Regions from separate parts of the Homo sapiens genome. Here region 2 is linked to region 1. Evidence: promoter capture Hi-C in 16 types of primary human blood cells and fetal thymus (Javierre and others, 2016). All regions are on one chromosome and are shown on one strand. The core of a region is centred on a gene start or on the middle of the fragment in contact, and the rest is flanking DNA. Distances in the headings are between cores, read along the strand shown. Region 1 holds the start of SPATA3-AS1 (SPATA3 antisense RNA 1). Region 2 overlaps GCSIR (GPR55 cis regulatory suppressor of immune response RNA).

The links. The method cuts DNA at HindIII sites, captures the fragments that hold promoters and counts their contacts. A CHiCAGO score of 5 or more calls a contact.
Region 2: a fragment that was not itself captured here is called in contact with the fragment with the promoter of SPATA3-AS1 in region 1 in 14 of 17 cell types (M2 macrophages, M0 macrophages, M1 macrophages and 11 more); the score reaches 21.5 in M2 macrophages.

The regions. Positions count from the first base shown.
Region 1 is chr2:230,992,809-230,997,972 of GRCh38, forward strand. It overlaps SPATA3-AS1 (SPATA3 antisense RNA 1), which reads right to left and starts at 3,224. Exons shown (of 6, transcript NR_033879.1): 1 at 3,040-3,224; 2 at 2,469-2,577. SPATA3 (spermatogenesis associated 3) reads left to right here and starts at 3,313. Exons shown (of 5, transcript NM_139073.5): 1 at 3,313-3,726. The coding sequence starts at 3,426. RefSeq lists an enhancer at 2,824-3,357. The HindIII fragment of the contact is 18,304 bases long and covers 1-5,164 here.
Region 2 is chr2:230,895,111-230,900,274 of GRCh38, forward strand. GCSIR (GPR55 cis regulatory suppressor of immune response RNA) reads left to right here. Exons shown (of 4, transcript NR_038238.1): 2 at 288-495; 3 at 849-1,980. Among named protein-coding and RNA genes, the nearest start is that of GCSIR, 11 kb to the left of the region's middle. The HindIII fragment of the contact is 2,050 bases long and covers 2,193-4,242 here.

The DNA.
Region 1 (5,164 bases), core at 1,974-4,473:
CTCTCAAAGTGCTGGGATTACAGGCATGAGCCACTGTGCCCAGCTTAGAAAGGCTTTATGAAGAGATTTATCCACTTGAGATAGGGCTTGACCAGAAAATGCTTTGGTAGAGGTGCAGAGAGGGATGATAGAGGAGAAGGGCTTCTGAAAATGCAGGAATGTTCAGCCTGTTCATGAGATCTCTGATGTTCACGGTTAGCTAGAGCTGGACACAGGTAGTAGTAGTGGCTGATAAGCACTGGGCAGTGGGCTGTGGCTGTATTATGGAAGAGCCAGGCTTCCTGTATAGGAACAGGTGCTCAAACAGAAAGCAGTGGGGCCAGGCGCAGTGGCTCATGCCTGTAATCCCAACACTTACGGAGGCCAAGGCAGGCAGATCACTTGAGGTCAGGAGTTCGAGACCAGCCTGGCCAACAGAGTGAAACCCTGTCTCCACTAAAACTATAAAAATTAGTCAGGCATGGCGGCGCATGTCTGTAATCTACTCAGGAGCCTGGAGCATGCCTGTAAGCTACTCGGGAGGCTGAGGCAGGAGAATCAGTTGAACCCGGGAGGTGGAGGTTGCAGTGAGCCAAAATTGGGCCACTGCACTCCTGGAGACAGAGTGAGACTCTGAAAACAAAAACAAAAAGAAGAAGAAGAAGAAGGTGGGGGCTGCAGGGAAGACGTTCTAGCAAGGAGCTATTGAGGGACCATTCTTCCTCATTCTTCTGGGACAACCTCTTTCCACAGGTGCCCTCTCTCTGCTTCTTGGGACCACTCTTACTAAAGAATTCACACATATTTTTGCTGCTGCCACAGAGAAATTCCCCACTCCTCCCTCGGCCTGCCCTCTGTGCTTCCTCCATCTTTCTACAGGAAGACAGAGACTCATTCTCTGTGCCCTGTTTGGCTCCTTCTGGTAAAATGGAATATTTCTTTCATTGCTACCAGGAAGTTCTACCTATATGTGTCTGCTCCTATCTGATTCATTTACACCAACATGGCACAATCAGGGGCAATGTGGACACACACACTCCTACCCCATCTCTAGGGGACATTTAGCAATATCTGGAGACATTTTGGGTTGTCCTGGGGTAGGGGGGAGTAAAGACTGGGTAAAGACCAGGGATCTGGTAAACTTCCTACAATACACAGGATGACCCGCCACAACAAAGAATTACTCAGCCCAAAAATGTCAACAGGGCTGAGGTTGAAAAACACTGATTTAAACCAGGTTGAGGCCCTCGGCCGAAGCCCATTGGTACCTGAAAATCCAACTTTGCAGAGATTAATGCCTTAGGAGTTCCTGAGCTGTCTGCTAGATCTCAACAGGGTTCCCGGCCTCGGTTTCCAGTCTCTCTGATTCTAAATGGAGTCCCCTCAAGGGTTCCATTGCTCTTGGCTTCAGGAAATTACCAGCTTCATACAGATTCACTTGCTCCCAGAGCCTCCTTAGGCCAAGGTCAACCAAACACAACCCAATACTCTTGAGCTGAGCTTGCCTTCACTTCTGATCCTTCCTGCCTTTGTTTTCTTCAATCTTCTCGCTCAGGGACCTTTTTTTTTTTTTTGAGACGAGTCTCACTCTGTCGTCAGGCTGGAGTGCAGTGGCACAATCTCGGCTCACCACAACCTCCGCCTCACAGGTTCAAGTGATTCTCCTGCCTCAGCCTCCTGAGTACCTGGGACTACAGGCGTGCACCACCATGCCCAGCTAATTTTTGTATTTTTAGTAGAGACAGGTTTTCACCATGTTGGTTGGCCAGGATGGTCTCAATCTCTTGACCTCATGATCTGCCCGCCTCAGCCTCCCAAAGTGCTGGGATTATAGGCGTGAGCCACCGCACCAGGCCACTGGGGGACTTTTTAATTCATTATTTCAAAGCCTGTATAATTATCTGACTCCCTATTGTTTTCTGGGATCATGAAAATAATGAGCCCCAAACTGGAATTTAGTCCTTCCGATGCCCCCAGCCAGCTGTGTGACCCTGGGAAAGTAACTTAATTTCGCTAAACCTCAGTGTTCTGAGGAAAGGTCATCATTAAGGTATTTTTAGGCTCTAGAAGCCCTAAACTATGTCCTGTCATTTCAGAGTTCATGTTGGGTCTGGCTTTGTGTGGCCCAAAGCCCCCCATTTTTTTTTAAGACAGAGTCTCGCTCTGTCGCCCAGGCTGGAGTGCAGTGGCACGATCTCGGCTCACTGAAAGCTCCACCTCCAAGGTTCACGCCATTCTCCTGCCGAGTAGCTGGGACTACAGGCACCCACCACCACGCCCGGCTAATTTTTTGTATTTTTAGTAGAGACGGGGTTTCACCATGTCAGCCAGGATGGTCTCAATCTCCTGACCTCGTGATCTGCCCGCCTCAGCCTCCCAAAGTGCTGGGATTACAGGCGTGACCGAAGCCCTTTTTATCTGCATAGGTCTGCTCTAAACCTTCCGCTGGGGCAGGAGCTCCTGCGCTTGCCAGTCCCACACTCACCCACCTGTGACACACTGGCGATGAAAGCAGTCTCCTCAGGTGAACACATTTTATGTTGCAGTCACAGTATGAGCTTCAGATTGTCTTTTAAAAATACTTTTCCTTCTTCCATCCTAAAACAAAAATCACATTTAATGAGCACATTAAATTAATTAATCTAGAGAAAGATTCAGTCACCTGTTTAACCCAACCAATTGGGGTTTGGGAGATAGTCTGTGGTTGCCATTGCCATGAGTTTGAGACAAATGTTAGTTTTCTGAACAGCTGTTATGTTCTCAGGGAAAATTATCTGCCAAATGCAAAGGTTCTTATAAAAGTCAAGTCAACCCCCAAACTCCCCTCCCACAGTGCGGGAGGGCAGGCTTTGGGGGAAGGGGTAAGCTACTCTGAGATGGTAGCAGGCTCTGGGCCATGGTAAAGCCTTCGAAGAAGCTCCAAATCTTCAGGAAGCTGACCTGAAGATGAATGCGTGGGGAACATGGATTTTTGAGGTGTAGGAGTAGGGGGTATGTGGAAGCCAGTGACAGAGCTGAGCGTCACATCCAGGGTATCTTAGAGCAAAACAGGTAGCTCACATGGACCCAGGAACACGCCAGCAGAGAGGTGTCTGAAGGCAGCGCTCAGGTCGCAGAAGCATGAGGATCTGGCTGTCACCAGCCCCGTAGCCAGGGCTGTGAGGACCAGGGCAGCCGCTGTCCCCTGCCTAGCCTGGCAGCCTGGGATGAAGGAGGACACCAGGCTGGTGTCTGCAGAGAAGACTGTCCCTTGAAGCCCTGCCATAGGAGCCACCCTGGCTTTTATGACCTCACAGGAGGTGTGGGTCACTGTTCTCTGTGGGGCCTGGGTCCAGCTGGAGGCCCAAGCCAGGCTCCTAGGGCAGAGGGCAAACGGCCCCTCCAGGAGGGAGCCGGGAGATTACGCAGCTCCATGTAGGTCCACGTTTAGGTTGGGAGGATCTACCATGAAGAAGGTCAAGAAGAAAAGGTCAGAGGCCAGACGCCACCGAGACTCCACCTCCCAGCATGCTAGCTCCAATTCCACCTCTCAGCAGCCTAGCCCTGAATCCACACCACAGCAGCCTAGTCCTGAATCCACACCACAGCAGCCTAGCCCTGAATCCACACCACAGCATTCCAGCCTTGAAACCACCTCCCGGCAGCCAGCATTCCAAGCCCTTCCAGCACCCGAAATCCGCCGCTCCTCTTGCTGCCTTTTATCTCCAGATGCTAACGTGAAGGCAGCCCCTCAATCCAGGAAAGCAGGTGGGCTGTCTTCTAGCTTCAGCAGTTCCAGCCTTCCTGCTGATGGAGTTCTGGGTCATCCCAAAGGCTGGTTCTTGTAGGATAGTGATGCATGGTTAACGTGTATCCTGGAGCTGTGCTGTAGAGTGGGAAGGTTTTTGTTTTTGTTTCTACCCAAGAGACCAGGATTCCTGGGTTTTGTCATTTCTCATCATCCTGAGTCTCACTGAAGACAGCCACACATACATATAAACATTTAACTTGGTTCCATAGTAATACTTGCTCACTAGGAATCAGCAGTGCCATGCAACTGCTAAAAAATAAAAACCAAGGATGCATTTATAGAAGTATATGGTTTAGAATAAGGGAGGTGATGATACTGCTTTATTCTGTCCTCATCAAGCTATCCTTTTGGGCTGTAAAAGATGCCTGACAAACTAGTCCAAGGAAGATAGTCTGGGTTGATGGAGGATGAGAAGGATCAGGGAGACCATTTAGTGTATGACAGTCAATTGAAGGAATTGGAGGATGTCTGTCTGTCAAGTGGAAGATGTGAATAGACTTGTTCCTTATTGTCCTCAGAGATCTAAGGGTCTGATGTGGTTTGGCTGTGTCCCCACCCAAATCTCTTCTTGAATTCCCAGGTGTTGTAGGAAGGACCCAGTGGGAAGTGATTGAATCACGGGGGAGGGTCTTTTCCGTGGTGTTCTCGTGATAGTGAATAAGTTTCATGAGATCTAATGGTTTTAAAAAAGGGAGTTTCCCTGCACAAACTCTCTTCTCTTGTCTGCCGCCATGTGAGATGTGCCTTTCACCTTCCACCATGATTGTGAGGCCTCCCCAGCCACGTGGAACTGTAAGTTCCACAAACCTCTTTCTTTTGTAAATTGCCTAGTCTCAGATATGTCTTTATCAGCAGTGTGAAAACAGACAAATACAGGCCCATGGATAGGATAGCCAGACAAAATACAAGACTCTCAGTTAAATTTTAATTTTAGTAAACAACAAATAATATTTTTAGTATGTGTGTCCCCAGTATTGCATGGGCATCCTATATTTTTATTTGCTAAATTAGCAATCTTACCCATGGAAGACATTAGTGACAGAAAGCCTTCGGCTCAACATAAAAAACTTCCCAACAATTAGCTCTGTCTGAAAATGGAATGGCTGTCAGGAAAAGTGGTTCCCTGTCTTCTTGGGAGCCAAACAGTGTCTGTATAAGCATTGGATTGTGTAGAGGGAATTCAAGTGGAGTTCAGGAGGTGGGCTGGTTTATACTACTAACAATAATGGTGATAGCAAACTAACATTATCACTAAGCATTTACTGTGTACCTAGCATTCAGATCAGGTGTCTTAATTTTCACACGTGATAATCCTATAAAAGTTCTTCCATATTATCTCCATTTTATAGATGGGGAAACTGAGGCTCATAGGAGTCAAACAGGTTGCTCCTGAGC
Region 2 (5,164 bases), core at 1,968-4,467, 98 kb before region 1:
AAGGTCAGGAGTTCAAGATCAGCCTGGCCAAGATGGTGAAACCCCGTCTCTACTAAAAATACAAAAAATTAGCTGGGTGTGGGACAGGCGCCTGTAATCCCAGCTACTCGGGAGGCTGAGGCAGTGAATTGCTTGAACCTGGGAGGCAGAGGTTGCAGTGAGCCGAGATAGAGCCACTGCACTCCAGCCTGGGTGACAGAGGGAGACTCCATCTCAAAATAAAGAAATAAATAAGTAAATAAATAAATAAATGTCATACTGTGCCACCAAGGCCAATGTCTTCACAGGTTTTTTGACCTTGGCAATGTTCCCGTCAGACTGCAGAAGAATTGACTATTCCCGTTCAGGTAGATGATGACCGGCCCCATAAACAGCCACCAAGGGTCACCCTCTCCCTCCCCAGCCCTGAAGGCCAAGAAATGGGACTGGGCTCCTTGGATTTATGACCTTCTGGCTCCTGCAGAGAGAGGAGGACTGGGGCTTGACAAGGACACGGTAAGCTGGACAGACTCCTGCACGGTGTAGGCTTGAGGCCACATTCCTCGTCCCTCTCTGGCTGGGGGCTGGGGCTGGGTGGACATGGTTCCTCCGTGATGTTCTGCCACCCAGCAGCTTGCCACCCTCTCCAGGTCCTTTGGCAAAATTTCAAACCACGCTGATTGACCTTGGAGCTCCACCCACATCCACACCCTTGGCTGTGTCAGAAACTCCACTACAGGCAAGAAAACAAGGGAACTGGGGTTTATGACTTCTGTTCAGCTTCATTAAATATTTGCTGAGCAACTTTTAGAGGAGTTTTCTGGATTCCACAGAGGGGACTAACTAATTCCACCTCTTCCTTTTAGCAGGGGCTAAGGACTGTCCTTGGATCTCAGTAGGACAGCTGACCTTCCCTCCACCCAATGACTGCTCCAGTCTGATCGTTCCTGGCCACCTGATAATCTCTTTGTGCAAACACCAGGAAGCCCTGGTTAGAGGTGTGGACACCAGGTGTTCTTGAGGAGGACAGTGGTGACTCAGTTTTATCTGACCCCATGCTCTCAAGTTCCTTTTCTGTGAGACACTTCTTATGTGCTACTTTGGACCCTCTCACTTATCTGTGGGCCATTGGCCACTGGCCCCAGCCACAGCTGAGACCACCAACTCTGCATGGACTCAGACAGGCTTCACCCAGGCACACCCAGCAGCCCCTGCCTCAGGTCCCAGCTATGCACCCCTTAGGCTTGCCTGGATACTAGGATGGGAGACACTGCATCCATCCATCCACGACCAGCAAGTAGAGGCAATTAATACCCTTCAGGCGACCCAACGCGAGCTGGGAGCCTGTGCACAAATTATTCTCCTTTTCTCCCAAAAGGATTGTGCCGAGAAACATTTGTGCAGCTTCCCGGAGGATGGCCCTTGGGGTCGAGCAAGCAGTTATGTTTGTTACCAAGCCTCGGCCAGCTCCATAACACACCCTGGAGTTGGCACCACTTCCTTCCCAGCTACACTCCCCTTTCTCTCACACCTGCTCCCTGGGGTCACCTCCCTACCAAAGGAGGGGCACAGGAGCCTTTGTTTCCCGCTCTGCTTTCCAAGAAACCCAAACCAAGCCATGCTGAGTTCCTTCCAGAGCTCCACTTCCACTTCACGGGATCCTCTTAGTACCACAGTCAGCACCCAACATGCCTCTGAGATGGGCGTGTGATCCTGACTGGCCAGTCGGCGCCTTATTTCTCTGGCCACAGAACTTGGCTCAGGAGATGACATGTGACCAATCCGAATTTTCCCTGGGGACTGATACGTGGACACCAGGGACCTCGTGCACCAGTAAGGTCGCTGCCTTCCTTCTCTGCCAGAGATGATTCTGTCTCATCCAATCAAGACTTGAGTGGACTCCAGCTTCCCAGAAAGCCTTTCTCCATCATCCCAGCCCCACGAGATCTTACCCGCTTCACTGGTAACACCCAGAATCCTCAGCACAACTGCTACCACCAGGTACTGCCTTGCTCCTTTACACTGTTATGTTGTTTGAATCTGTTATGCAGCTGATTATGTGTATTCCTATTTCTACTAGGCACACATGGTTCTACCTGGCTAACTACAGTGGATTCATTGCCCAAATGAGGTAGGCAGCTGCTTCAACATATAGAGAGGCCAGGTATCCAATATAAGGAACCACATTATCCCAGTTTGCCTGGAACTTTCCAAGCTTTAACACTGAGTAGCCTTGGTCTCCCTCAGTCCTGGACAGACTGGGACATTTGGTCACCTTGTTCAATGAGCAGGAGCAGGAGGAGAGTGTTGTCTAGGAGAAGCCCCCTTTTATTTATTTCCCTTCTGAGACAGGGTCTCGCTCTGTCACCCAGGTTGGGGTCCAGTGGCAGGATCACAGCTCATTGCAGCCTCAACCTCCCGAGCTCATGCAATCCTCCCACCTCAGCCCCCCAAGTAGCTGGGATGACAAGCACACCACCACACCCAGTTATTATTATTATTATTATTATTTTTAATAGAGACAAGGTCTCACTACATTGCCCAGGCTGGTCTCAAACTCCTGAGCTCACGCGATCCTACCACCTTGGCCTCCCAAAGTGCTTACAGGTGTGAGTCACTGCACCCGGCCGGGAAGCCTCTTTTTAAAGTAAAGGACATAGACTGCACAGATTCAGCCCAGACTCCATCTATTTATCTATTTAATTGAGCTCCTACAATTTATTGAGCTTCTACTATGTGTCTGACACTCTGCTAAGTTCTGAAGATCCAGAGATGAACAAGACCTAGTCCCTTCCCTGAAGAGTTTATAGTTCAGAGCAGGCATTAGGGAAATTTTTTGCAAAGGGCTAGATTACAAGTGTTTTCAGTTTTACAAACCATACAGTCTCTGTCATAACTACCGTGGTCTGCTGTAGCTCCAAAGCAGCCACTGCAGACAGTGTGAATGGACATGACTGTGTCCCCACAAGACTTGAAGGGCAGCAGCCTCCTGGCACAGAGGTGGAGAAAAACACACAAAGCCTCAGAGCACCTGCCAGGCCCCTGCTGAAGGTAGCAGCTCCAGGCGGCCCCATAGGCGGCATCTCACATGGCCCCATCTCCTCCGCCGTGGTTGACTGGACCAGGGAGGAGCACGTGATTCACAGGTAGCCCATCCTCAGGCTGCCAGTGATGGACACGGGTGGAGAGGCCAGCAGAGATAGTGGCCGCCAGCTGGGACAACGGTGGTAGGAGACAGAGACCGAAAGGCAGGAAGGATAGAGCAGAGCCAATAGACTTCCCTGGACCCTCAAGCCCTTCCAAACCTGAGCCGTGTTCCAGGCCCCATGGGGACCTCCCGGGAGGTCTTGCTGTGAGCCTGTCCTGGGACCCGGGCAGGCTTGCACGGAGCTGAGAGTCCTGTCTTCTTTATTTCCATGTACATCCTTCAACAAAACAGCTTTTGCTTCCTTCTTTCTTGTTTAACAATTCAGTAATTTTTAGAAAATTTATAAAGTTGTGCAACCATGCAACCATCACTGTCACCCAGCTTCCATAATAAACCTGAATGAGCTCCCTGCACTCAAGAGACCCTCACTCACCCCAGTTCCTTGTGGAAAGTTAGGGTGCCATGGGATCACAGAGGAGGGACCCCCAGCTGGGGCCAGGGGCTCCGAGAAGTCTTCCCAGAGAGACCCAAGGACAGTCAGAGAATTCCTGGGATGATGTGGGGAAGGGGGATCCCCATCACCTCTTTGACCTTTAGTGGGCAGCAAGGGCCAACATCTGACCAGGTGCCTCGTGCAGCAGGCATGGTGTAGACAGAACACTTTGTCAGATGCCGATGAATCAAGCAGCTTTCCTTTTCCTCCATACCCTCCATGCCCTCCTGTGGCAGCCTCAGTCCACCCCAGCGTCCTTAGACAGGGCCTTGCAGGCCAGGGCACACTGCAGGAAAGGGAAGAATCTGCACGTGGCTCCCTGGGGCCGTCGATGATGGGCTTTGCTGCCTGCACCACCCGAGTTTTCATCCAAGAAAACACCCTAACCTGGTATTTCCCAAGGAATTCAAGTGAAATTGTCAAAAGGGCTTACATCCCTGTTTTAAGGCTGTGGAAGAGGTCTGGCCATACAATCTCCCTCTCCCTTTCCCCTTCACCCCCAGGAAAGAGAGAATCTCCAAGCACCCATACCCAGGGCCTCTGTCTTCCCACTCCCCTCTCCCATCTCCCCATAAGGAGCCTTTCTCTTGCTGAAGCAGGAAACTTCATTTTGCTAACAGGAAGCTTCTTTGTTCCCTGCAAGAGAAACCAGCTCCAGCTAATTCAAGCAAAAGAAGGCTCTTCGCAGGGATGTGGAGCAGCTCACAGTTGCAAAGAGGTTGCTGAGCAACGTGCACTGCCTGGAGGTGACTGCAGCGGCCCTGGGCTTCCCTGGGCTCCCCCGCTGGCAGACAGAATCTGACAGCACGGTTTGGTGCAAGGGTCCCTGGCCTTGGTCCTTTGGATCACTCAGTGACAGGGAACAGGAGCCAGTCTGCTTCCCTATCCCATTAGAAGGATCTGGATTTGCTCCATTCACCCAGACCTGGGTTTCACCAGGAACTAGGGGTGTACATCATCTATGCCCAAACCCAGGGCACCCCTGAGTATACGGCATTTCCCAGTGGGCCATTAAGAAGATGCGCATACAGAAGAGATTGTTTTTCCAAGTGAGAAGATCCAGCTTGAATATACAAACTATTAGGGTTGTGCATGTAATTGTTTAAATGTCTCCTGTAGGAGTTAATGCATTTGGTTTTCAAGACATCTTTTAATTCCACAGAAGGTAACTCCTTTCCACTTTCACATTTCATGGAACATTTTTTCATCTCAACCTGTCACCAGCATCTTGAGTGTCTGTCTCCTCATCACCCCTGAGCCACGGTTTGAGTCACCGGTGACTTTCAGGGTACGTCACCTCCGTCTCCTCTCAGTTACAGAGATTCAGCACTTTTTAAATCCCCACATGATGCTATCACTGGAAATTGTATCTAAGTTGCAAGTGCCCCTTCTCATAATATTGAGGGACTTAAAGTTGTTAGTTGAACCTTAAGAGAAATATGAGAATCTTCTTAACTGGTGATTGGGGCACACCAGGAACCCCGGCATTATCATCAATCCTACCAGAGGGCTTCTGCACACAGCCAGGTATAAGGGGCTTGGAG